4 separate regions of the Homo sapiens genome follow, and all the other regions are linked to region 1. Evidence: promoter capture Hi-C in human tissues and cell types (Jung and others, 2019). All regions are on one chromosome and are shown on one strand. Each heading gives the region's core, a stretch centred on a gene start or on the middle of the fragment in contact. The rest is flanking DNA. Distances are from core to core; before and after follow the strand shown.

The links. The method cuts DNA at HindIII sites, captures the fragments that hold promoters and counts their contacts. A contact is called where the count stands out against the background at its distance.
Region 2: a contact is called between a fragment that was not itself captured here and the fragment with the promoter of NEUROG2 in region 1, in 2 of the 25 tissues and cell types used here (mesendoderm cells and neural progenitor cells).
Region 3: a fragment that was not itself captured here is called in contact with the fragment with the promoter of NEUROG2 in region 1 in 2 of the 25 tissues and cell types used here (mesendoderm cells and spleen).
Region 4: a contact is called between a fragment that was not itself captured here and the fragment with the promoter of NEUROG2 in region 1, in 8 of the 25 tissues and cell types used here (H1 embryonic stem cells, IMR-90 fibroblasts, heart right ventricle and 5 more).

The regions. Positions count from the first base shown.
Region 1 is chr4:112,514,730-112,517,429 of GRCh38, reverse strand. NEUROG2 (neurogenin 2) reads left to right here and starts at 1,250. Exons shown (of 2, transcript NM_024019.4): 1 at 1,250-1,583; 2 at 1,954-2,700. The coding sequence starts at 1,955. NEUROG2-AS1 (NEUROG2 and ZGRF1 antisense RNA 1) reads right to left here and starts at 2,051. Exons shown (of 4, transcript NR_161159.1): 1 at 1,790-2,051. LOC124900760 (a long non-coding RNA gene) reads right to left here and starts at 625. Exons shown (of 2, transcript XR_007058231.1): 1 at 391-625. RefSeq lists enhancers at 29-148, 249-348, 1-479 and silencers at 489-768, 2,089-2,158, 2,419-2,618. The HindIII fragment of the contact is 15,153 bases long and covers 1-2,700 here.
Region 2 is chr4:112,415,104-112,417,803 of GRCh38, reverse strand. The region is part of intron 5 of ALPK1 (alpha kinase 1); the gene reads right to left. Among named protein-coding and RNA genes, the nearest start is that of NEUROG2-AS1, 99 kb to the left of the region's middle. The HindIII fragment of the contact is 3,375 bases long and covers 1-2,700 here.
Region 3 is chr4:112,436,872-112,439,571 of GRCh38, reverse strand. It overlaps ALPK1 (alpha kinase 1), which reads right to left. Exons shown (of 16, transcript NM_025144.4): 13 at 926-1,088. Among named protein-coding and RNA genes, the nearest start is that of NEUROG2-AS1, 77 kb to the left of the region's middle. The HindIII fragment of the contact is 4,969 bases long and covers 1-2,700 here.
Region 4 is chr4:112,390,068-112,392,824 of GRCh38, reverse strand. All of the region lies in intron 4 of ALPK1 (alpha kinase 1), which reads right to left. Among named protein-coding and RNA genes, the nearest start is that of ALPK1, 94 kb to the right of the region's middle. The HindIII fragment of the contact is 5,643 bases long and covers 1-2,757 here.

The sequences.
Region 1 (2,700 bases), core at 1-2,500:
GGGCCCCTTGTCCCTACAACGCCCCCCAGCGCGGAGCAGAGGTCACAGAAATGTCAGCGCAGCGCATTTGCTTGCAGGAGCAGCAGCTCTGCCGCTCCTCCCGCTCGGTTCGCTGCCACCCACGCAGGAAGCCTCCTTGCTGTCCCTCCAGGCTATAAACTGGGTTAACCCCAGCAAAACCTGCATCAGTGCCCGGAGCCTCAGTTTCCTGTATGTAAAATGAGGGGGATCCTTTCAGCTCTAACATGTGAGTGATTTCATTCTCACATCCTCTAAAAGCTCATCAACTGCTCCCCTATCCGACCTCCCCTCCCAAGAGACGCCTGTTTGAATCCCCAGTGTCCTCTCCCTTCACTCTCCCACGCCAGTTTCGACGGACCCCAAACACACTTGTTCACGAGGTGTCCACATCTCTCCATCCACGCCATTCTCCTCCCCTAACCAAATGAATCCATTTTAAAATCGTTTACTATTTGATACAACCCCTAAGAGGCTTTGCCAAGAGACGCCCGGCAGCACCACAGGGCTAACTGCTTTCCCCGGGATTCTGACCCCCATTAACTAATTCCTAGTTCCCATCACCCGGGAGTTAGGAGGGCCGGCAGCGCCGGGTGCGGTGCCTGCGCGCGCGCCGGGCGGGGGGAGCCTCGGCGGCAGCGAGGACGAAGGCGGGGGCGGTAGCACGGGTCCCCCCATCCGCCCCCAGCGCTCGGGCCCCTAATGAGCTGCTGAAAGGGAGCGGGCTCCGGTGCGCGTGGCTCGCAGGCCTCCCGGAGTCCAGGGCGCCCTGATTGGCCAGCTGCGCCTCGCGACCTCCATTCATTAATAAATTAGCGGCACGCTCCAGCCGAGCGCGAGCCACCAATCACAATGGACAGCGGCGGCGACAACAGCCGCAGCTTGAGCCTCTGCGGCCGCTGCGGCTTCGCCAGCTCCGGCCGCAGCCCGGAGCTCCAACAGGAGCTTTAGAACCATTTTATGTTGATTAGATAAAGGGGGAAAAGAGAGGCGGGGGTGGTGGGAGGAGGAGGATGGATGGCAGGGCCAAGGGAGGGGGAAAGGCGGTGAAGAAAGAGGAAGAAATGAATGATGATAATGCAATGAAAAGAATAAGCCAGAGGAGGGAAAAGCGGGGGAGAAGGGGGGCAGGACTGACAGGAGGAGGAGGCGGTGGCGGGGGAGGAGGGGGCCCGGGGCAGATCTGATTGTTTTCTTGGTGGTATATAAGGGGTTTTAAGGAGAGTCGTGTGCCAGACACGCAGCCACTGAACCACAAGCAGCTTCGCGTTAACTGGAGTGCCTGGGAGTCGCGTGCCAGGAGCCGCACGGCCAGGGACTGACTGACAGACAGACACGCACCACCACCACAACACACGAGACCCGGGCGGGCCGCCGCCGCCGCCGCCGGGGCTCTTGGCAAACTCGCCGGTCGCAGAGGTCCCCCGCGGAGCTGCGCCACAGTAGCGCCGGGCTTGCAGCTTTCACGCCGGGCGAAGGACCCGGCGCTGCGCTCGCAGCTGCGCGGAGATTCCCGGCACAGGCCAAAGTCACAGCAACGCTGAGGCACAGTTAGAGCCAACTAAGTAAGTATTCGAGCCACCGCTTCCAACTACGCAGGTGGTTTCCCCGCACTCAGTCCAACCACACCCGCACGCCCTCTGCTCCGCGCAGAATCTTTGTCGCGGAGGCCGCAGTCCCTTCTCGGGGAGGGAACGCAGGACCGCCCGCGGAGGGCAGGACCCGGCTGACTGGCAGCAGGGTCACAGCGAGCGCTAGCGGCGCTCCTGACCTTGGTTAGCACTGCCTGGGTTTCTTCCTTCGCCTTCCTGCTCCGCGCCATTCGGAGCTGGTCTTCTCGGGTGCGCGCCGGAGCACGCCCCTGTGACACGAAGATCGCGCCTCTGTTTCTTTCCTTACACCTCACTGCCTTTTTCCCCTTTCTCTCTTCGGTAGGATGTTCGTCAAATCCGAGACCTTGGAGTTGAAGGAGGAAGAGGACGTGTTAGTGCTGCTCGGATCGGCCTCCCCCGCCTTGGCGGCCCTGACCCCGCTGTCATCCAGCGCCGACGAAGAAGAGGAGGAGGAGCCGGGCGCGTCAGGCGGGGCGCGTCGGCAGCGCGGGGCTGAGGCCGGGCAGGGGGCGCGGGGCGGCGTGGCTGCGGGTGCGGAGGGCTGCCGGCCCGCACGGCTGCTGGGTCTGGTACACGATTGCAAACGGCGCCCTTCCCGGGCGCGGGCCGTCTCCCGAGGCGCCAAGACGGCCGAGACGGTGCAGCGCATCAAGAAGACCCGTAGACTGAAGGCCAACAACCGCGAGCGAAACCGCATGCACAACCTCAACGCGGCACTGGACGCGCTGCGCGAGGTGCTCCCCACGTTCCCCGAGGACGCCAAGCTCACCAAGATCGAGACCCTGCGCTTCGCCCACAACTACATCTGGGCACTCACCGAGACCCTGCGCCTGGCGGATCACTGCGGGGGCGGCGGCGGGGGCCTGCCGGGGGCGCTCTTCTCCGAGGCAGTGTTGCTGAGCCCGGGAGGAGCCAGCGCCGCCCTGAGCAGCAGCGGAGACAGCCCCTCGCCCGCCTCCACGTGGAGTTGCACCAACAGCCCCGCGCCGTCCTCCTCCGTGTCCTCCAATTCCACCTCCCCCTACAGCTGCACTTTATCGCCCGCCAGCCCGGCCGGGTCAGACATGGA
Region 2 (2,700 bases), core at 49-2,548, 100 kb after region 1:
TAAAAATACTTAACTATCAGCCAGGCACGGTGACTCATGCCTATAATCCCAGGACTTTGGGAAGCTGAGGCAGGAGGATCGCTTGAGCCCAGGAATTCAAGACCAGTCTGGGCAACGTAGAGAGACCTCGACTCTACAGAAAATAAACAAGTTAGCTGGGCATGGTGGCACATGCCTGTAGTCCCAGCTACTTGGAAGGCTAAAGTGGGAGGATTGCTTGGCCTGGAAGGTTGAGGCTGCAGTGACCCATGATTGCACCACTGTACTCTAGCCTGGGTAACAGAGTGAGATCGTGTCCCCCAAAAAATAAAAACAAAAATAAAACCCACTATCCTTATGTATCTGGAATAAACCTTCCTTGATTGTAATGCATTATTAATTTAATACAATGTTGGTCAATTTGGTAATATTTCAAGATTTTTTGCACCTTATTAATTATATAAGTGATATTGCCATATAATTTCCTTTTATTTTAATCTTATATGGCTAAATGTATTTACCACATTCTTTAGTCATCATCTTTTTTTACTCTCCACTTCTTCATTCTAAGTTCAATTTTCTTCTTAGAAAAATGCATCCTTTAGTGTGTATGTGAGTGTGTGTGTGAATGAGAGAGCTGTCTTGAGAATAATTTATTTTTAGCCAATCAGGTCTGAAAATGTCTATTTTATCCTCACTTTTGAATGACAATTTTGCTAGGTATAAAATCCGAGGTCAAAACCTATGTCCTCTCAATTTTTTGGAGATTCTCTTGCTTTCTGGACTCTTATTATTGATAAGATACTTTTTGTTAGTCTAAATATACTTCCTATATTAATCTGTCTTTTCTGTCTGTTTCTTTAAGACTTTCTTATTGTATGATTTTCTATAGTTTACCACACTAGGTATGGTCTTGAATTTATTTAAAAAGTTTTTTTTTTTTTTTTTTGAGACAGGGTCTTGCTCTGTCACTCAGGCTGGAGTGCAGTGGTGTAATCATGGCTCACTGCAGCCTCAATCTCCTGGTCTCAAGAGATCCTCCCACCGTAGCCTCTGGAGTAGCTGAGACTACAGCTACATGTCACCACACCTGGTTGATTTTGTTTATTTTTTGTAGAGATGAGATCATCCTGTGTTGCCCAGGCTGGTCTTGAACTCTTGGGCTCATGCGATCCCTCCCACCTTGGCCTCCTAAAGTCCTGGGATTACAGGTGTGAGTCACCATGCCTGGCCTAAAACTTTTTTGCCCAAGGCTAGATATACTCCTTCAGTGTAAAGACATAATTTTCTCCAATTCTGAGTCTAGTTAGTCCCGCTAGAAGTCTTCCTATGCTTCTGTGTTTTTTTAAATCTCTTTGAGTTTTTTAAACTTCCCTATTTTCATCTACTTAGCTCTCTGTGCTTCATTTTCAACATTTTTTTTAAATACAGTTTCCAGTTCCATAATTTTCTCCCCCACTGTTAATGGTATTGCAGGCGTACATTTCCGGTAGGTCAGTTATGGGGTTGGAACATCTGAGAAACTGGCTGTAGAAAATGTACCTTGATTTTAAGGTTGTTAGTGGTCATTAGTCCCAGGTGGGCAGCCAGGCACGTGGTTAGAATCTTTAGATGATCCCTTGCTAGTCAAGCAAGGTTCACAGAACAGCAGCATCTCAGGCCGTACCAGAGATCTACTGAATCGGAATCTGCATTTTAATAAGATCTTTAGGGGATTCAGAGCACACTGAAGTTTGGGGAGCACTACTATTTGTGTCTTTTTGTTGCTAGCCTGAATCGAGGAGATTAAGTGAAACACTGAGAGTGAGCATTTAGAAATTTTTATTATGATTTGCCAAAATAATTGTATAACTCTTGAAGCTGATGATAATAAATACATTAAGCTTGCATTTTTGTATCTTTGTTTTTTACTTCATTTTTCTAAGGATTTATTTTATCTCATTCACCCCATTGAAGCAGTCTGGTTGGCAGTTGGGCACCCTTACTAGCAGGTGAAATGCCAAAAGCTTATCTCACCAACCGGGAGGGTGTTCTGTGCTCTTCAGCCATGGTTTTGTAGTTGAATTCTTGTATCCTGTCTATATAAAAACAAACTTGCATGCGCTGCCTGTTCTGTGGGGAATTCCCCATCAATTACTATTACTTTCTCTTTTTTTTTCTTTTTTGTTTTCTTTCTTTCTTTTTTTTTTTGAGACAGAGTCTCACTGTAACCCAGGCTGGAGTGCAATGGCATGATCTCAGCTCACTGCAACCTCTGCCTTCTGGGTTCAAGCAATTCTCCCGCCTCAGCCTCCCAAGTAGCTGGGATTTCGTGCGCCTGCCACCACACCAGGCTAATTTTTTGTATTTTTAATAGAGATGGGGTTTCACCATGTTAGCCAGGCTGGTCTCGAACTCCTGACTTCAGGTAATCCACCCGCCTTGGCCTCCCAAAATGCTGGGTTTACAGGCGTGAGCCGCTGCCCAGCCTGTTGCTTATAATTTTAATGTAAGGTCATCTTTAGCCAAGAATATTTTCCTGTGAGATTCCCATGGCCCTGGGTGTGGATACTTCTCTAGAGTATAGTTTTGCATTTGATCTCCTGGGGCCCAGAAATTTCAGTCCTGAACAATTTTTTTTTCTTAATTATTTGATGGCAGGTTTCCTGCTTTGTGGGCAGAGTAAATTCAGACTCCACACTCAAATTCGGCACAGAGTTGAGACCTTTATTTTAGATGAGA
Region 3 (2,700 bases), core at 1-2,500, 78 kb after region 1:
TTTCATCATGGGTAAAGTAGGTATAATTATAACTACCTTTTAGGCTTGTTAAAGGGATTATGCAAGGAAATGCATGTAAAATGCTTAACACGGCATGTGGCATGTCATAGAACTTAAATTTATTGTCATTCACATATTAAACTGCTCACTTAAGATTTAGGCCATGACGTGACCTGTCCTGGAGGCTAGGTTACCAGGACATGAAGTTAGATCATGCTCAGGGACTCTAGGTTAAAACATCAGCTTTGTGGAGTTGTTTCAAAGGTTAGAGTTAAGGTTTGCAAACTGCCTGGCACAGTGAGTGACATAAAGAAGGTATGAAATGGATGATAATTACTATTATGATTAGGAAAAGACGGGTCTAAAAATGTCTCTGGCCAATGAAAAAATTATTGCAAGTATGAATGCACTCAGGATCTAATATATTCGGGGTAGCAAGGCATTCTTGATCCAAAGAAGAGAAAACTCAATGGGAATATTAGCCTTTATCTATTGAAAGGGGTATGTTAGTGAAGAGAGACTGGTCTTCATGGTCCCAGGAGGGAGAGCTGTAATCCATGGACAGAAGTTAGATAAAGATAGATTTGGGCTAAGTCTAAGAACTTTCTAACAATTAGGATTACTTGAAAGTGAAAGGAGAACAATTATTTTTTCTTGCTGAAGGTGTGTAAGCTTTGACTTAGCAATCACTTGGTTGCAAGGGGTGAGGCCAACAGATGTAAAATGGGATTTATGTATCATGTTGAGGGGATAGTTTGTACTAGATAAATCTTTAGGGTTCTTTCTCTCTTGGAAAGTACAGGGACAACACACAAGGATAGTTTGCTAAAAATGCTAGCCTGATTATGTGGAACCAGATACTCAGATTAATTGATATTCAAGTGTGATTTGGAAGATCCAAATGATGTGTTCAGGATAATCTTACCAGTAGTATTGTGGATGGGATGTAGAATATCTGGGTGGGAATGTTTTGTTCATAGAGTCTCTTGTTAAATTCTGTCACATAGTGCTGTGCGGTCATCTGTCGCTCCACATCAGTGAAGTGGTGCCAGAGCCCCTTCTGCTCCTTATAGTCTTTCCCAACATACCTATGAACAAAGAAAATCCACACAACAAAATGCAAAAGTGGTCTTACTTACTATGGAGTAAGAGAGAGGAGATCAAAAGACATATGCAGAAATGCTTGAAAGATCTCTTTCTCTGCCTTAGACTGAATATTAATTATTTTGACTTATCTCAAGATTCAAATAATTTTGTAAGAGCTACTTGAACAATGGAACACACTCATTCTAGCTGACCCAGAATGATACTGATTATAAAGGGAAAGTGTCACTTAATGTAGAAGTTCTCCAGACCTCTGGTAAGACAAGGGGGTCAGCAAAGTATACTGGAATGTGCATGGATTCTGGAGTCAAAACCTTCCACTCCCTGCAGTGTGGCCTTATATAGTCAGTTCATCAATCTGAAGCCTTCCTCTATCCCTTCCTTTTATGATTACTTCATTCCTATAAATACTTATTATCCGTCAATACCTATTATGTGCATAACACTGTGCTAGTCTTGAGTGACTTGAAGAAAGTGTGAGACATGATTTGTATATTTCAAGAGCTAATAGCACAGTTGGTGTGGGAAGACACAAGGCAGTAAATGATTACATGCGGAAAGAAGCAAAACAGTGCTGCACTTTACTGTAGTTTATACTTGCTGTAAACTGGTGTGAATTTGTGAGTAATTTCACATGTGCCCAGAGTGACCACCAAAAATCAAGGGGAATTGTTTGAGTCATAGACTTCAACCAGAGTAAACTCTCTCCAGAAATTTCTGAATCCCATATAATAATGGAACTTAAGGAGGCTGTGGTTTTGGCCATTCAGACTCCTGAAGACCAGAAAGGAAATCTGATAGTGGAGGCTGCAGTATGGCCTCAGAAGGCAGCCTGCAGAGGAGCAGTTGTTGTAATAGGGATGCCATACCAGTGCTTTAGGCAGTTCTTCTATGGAGAGACCGCAAGACCTATAGAGGGTTTGAACTAATTCAGAATTTTGTTGACTGATACCAGAGGTGTGCACAAGAGAGTGAACCTGTGAGTACTGGCTACTGGAGCATTTCCTGAACATTCTGCCAGAAGACCTCCAGTCTTAGGCAGGGGATCATCAATCTGAGAACAGAAGTCCATATCTTCTCTCATCTTGTACCATTTTTTTTCTGGGATCATTTTTCTTTAGTGAGGATTTGTTCATGGTAAACTGCCATGGTCATTTTTCCTTTTAAGCTGCAAATGTCTTTATTTTGTCTTCCTCCATAAAAGAGAGTTGCACTAAGTATATGACTTCCATTGTCTCTGAATTCCATTGTTGCTATGAAGAAACCAGCTGTAGGTCAAATTGACATTTCTATGTACGTAATCTGTCTATTTTCTTTGACTGCTTTTAAAATGGTTTCTTTGTCCTTAGTGTTTGGAGTTTGACTACTGTGTACCTAGTCAAACTAGGTACACAGGATGTCTGACTACCTGCCTTCCAGCTTCTTTCCTCCTTTCCCTTCTGTCCTTAGGATTCACTGTGATTTCTGTATTTCAAGATTAGTGTATTTTGGCAATTCTGAAAAATTACCAGAAAGTATCTATTCAAATATTGTTTTTGCTCTCTTGCTGTTATTTTCTTCTGATCAGAAATATATTGAACTCTGCCACTCCATTCT
Region 4 (2,757 bases), core at 168-2,667, 120 kb after region 1:
GTGCAGTGGTTCAATCCGGCAATCCCAGCACTTTGGGAGGCCTAGGCAGGTGGATCACTTGAGCTCAGGAGTTTGAGACCAGCTTGGGAAACACGGCTCTGGGAAACCCATCTCTACAAAAAAATAAAAAATTAGCCAGGCATGGTGACATGCACCTGTAGTCCCAGCTACTTGGGAGGCTGAAGTGGGAGGTTGGCTTGAGCCTGGGAAGCAGAGGTTACAGTCAGCCAAAATTGTACCACTGTACTGCACTGCAGCCTGGGCAACAGAGACATACACTGTCTCAGATAAATGAAATTACTTTTAATTGCAAAAACCACAATTACATTTTCACTAACCTAATAATAATAATATTCTAAGAATGAGATGATATGCTTGGAACCAGAATAGTTACAGTAGGATTAGGGAAAGGAAAATGTGTTTGAGAGACATCTAAGAGGAAAATTATTAGAATTTGGTAACAAATGAGATATGAGGGTTGGGGGGAAGTTAAAGCCAAGGTCTTGATTTGGGGAACTGGGTGGTTTGTAGTGCCATTTACCGATATGGTGATCGCTGGGGGTGGATAAAGTTTGGTTGGTGGAGGGAGAAGAAGTTGAGAGATTATGAGTTCAGTTTTGGACCTATTGAACTTGAGACATCTAGGACATCCAAATGGAAATATTTAGTGGGCTCTTGACTGTACTATTTACCACAAACTGATGAAGTGGGAAGAGTGATATGTTTTTCCCAATCTATTTTCTCTAGTTATGTTTAAGAATAAAATAACTTAGTAGATACTAGAGCCTATTCTTCTTTTCCTTTTAGAAGCATTTCTGTTGAAATATTCCATTGAACAAATTCTGTTTTTTTTTCCTGTGGACTGGGGTTTATTTTGCCTTCTGTTCTATAGAGGCACAGGCTTACATACTAAGAATCTAGAAGTCATTTGAAAGCTTTCTTGCTTCATTGTCTTACACATATGCACTTGGTATGTTAGTTTCCTGAGAAGGCCATAAACTGGGTGATTTAAAAGAATATAGATGTATCATTCCTCACTTCTGGAGGCTGGAAGTCTGAAATCAAGACGTCAGTGGGGCCATGCTCTAACAGGAGCATCTGTTCCCTGCCTTTCTTTTAGCTTCTGATGTTGCCAGCAACCCTTGTGCTTCTTGATCTGCAGCTGTATGGTTCCAATCTCTGCCTCTATCATCACATGGCATTTACCCTATGTCTCTAGGTATTCTCACAAGGCCACTAGTCACACTGGCTTAAGGGCTCACCCTACTCCAGTATGACCTCATTTTAACTTAATTAATTCCATCTACAATAACTTTATTTTCAAATAAAGTCCTCTGAGGTACCGAGGGATAAGACTTTAATGCATCATTTGGGGGGTCAATTCAACCCATGATACATGGTAAGACTGTGATAATGCTAAAATTTAATTGCCTTTAATGACAAAATTGTTTTGGCAATTGTTGTCCATACTTTTTATGGCCTGCAGTTTGGCTGTAACACTGACACTCTCTTCAACATTTGTTGCCCTTCTCAGGTTGAGGGAGTAGCCCCTACCTTGTTCACAAGGCAAAGGAAAACTTCCAATTGCTGAACAACACAACGGCTCATAAATCTTCTGCTAGGGACTGGCATATGTCACTTCCAGCCACATTTCATAGACTAAGACAGGTTGTGAGGGCCTAGCCTAATATCTCCATGGGAAGGTATATTCCTTTCAGAGGGAGGCATGCAAGTCACATGGCAAAAGTGAATATGTGGGAACAATAATACAATCTACCTCAGTCTAGCTCATTCCATGAATCATGACATACCTTAGGTTGTTTTTCATAATGTCTCTTAGATATGCTTCCTCTTTCCACTTCTCTCAAGCCTAACGTTTATGCAGGACCTCACATAATCATTCTTTCCTTGGCAGTTCAGTGTGCTCCCCAAACTCAGGATCTCCCCACTCCAATTTATAATATGCACAACAAATAGCATTATCTTCTTCAGGTGATTACTTCATTTCTTTATCAGGAAACATTTAAGGCATTTACTTAAATGCCTTCCATCCCTGAGAGATACATGGGCATTATCCTCCTGACCAGTACCTAGACAATTGTCTGACTGTGGGCCACACATGGGGCAGCCTCATATATATTTCAACACACATGCACATCAAACACCATGTTTTTCAAATAACATTAATACGGTTTCATTCATCCATCCATCCACCCATCCATCCATCATCCATCCATCCAAGGGTGTTCTTTGAAGGTATGCATTTTAAGTGTCAGGGATATAATGGTGAACACAGATAAGGCCCTGACCTCATGAAGCTTGTAGCTAGCAGAAGAGAGAGACAGAAACCCCACAAACAAATGTAAACAAATGTAAAAGAAACCCCACAAACAAATGTAAACTGCAACTTTGAAAAGGTGATACCTTATAGCCAAGCCTATATTGAGGAAGTTTGATTTAGTCCCAGAGATCAGGGCAGGCTTCCCTGAGAACTGAGATGTGAGCTGAGAAGGGAAAGATACACAGAAATTAATCAGGCAAAGGAGGGAGGGAAGAATGTCTCGGGAATGGAGAGCAGCTATGTGCATGGAATAATCCCGGTAAGAGTGTGGACTGAAAGGAGGCCATGAGATGGAGATGATGCAGCAGGGGCAGCCAAGGGAAGGACTATGCCTGGCAGGGCCCATGGGCCTCATTTCAGAGTTTTGCATTCCTAGGCATACTAGGGTGACAGACTAGAGTTGTAGTTTGCACAAA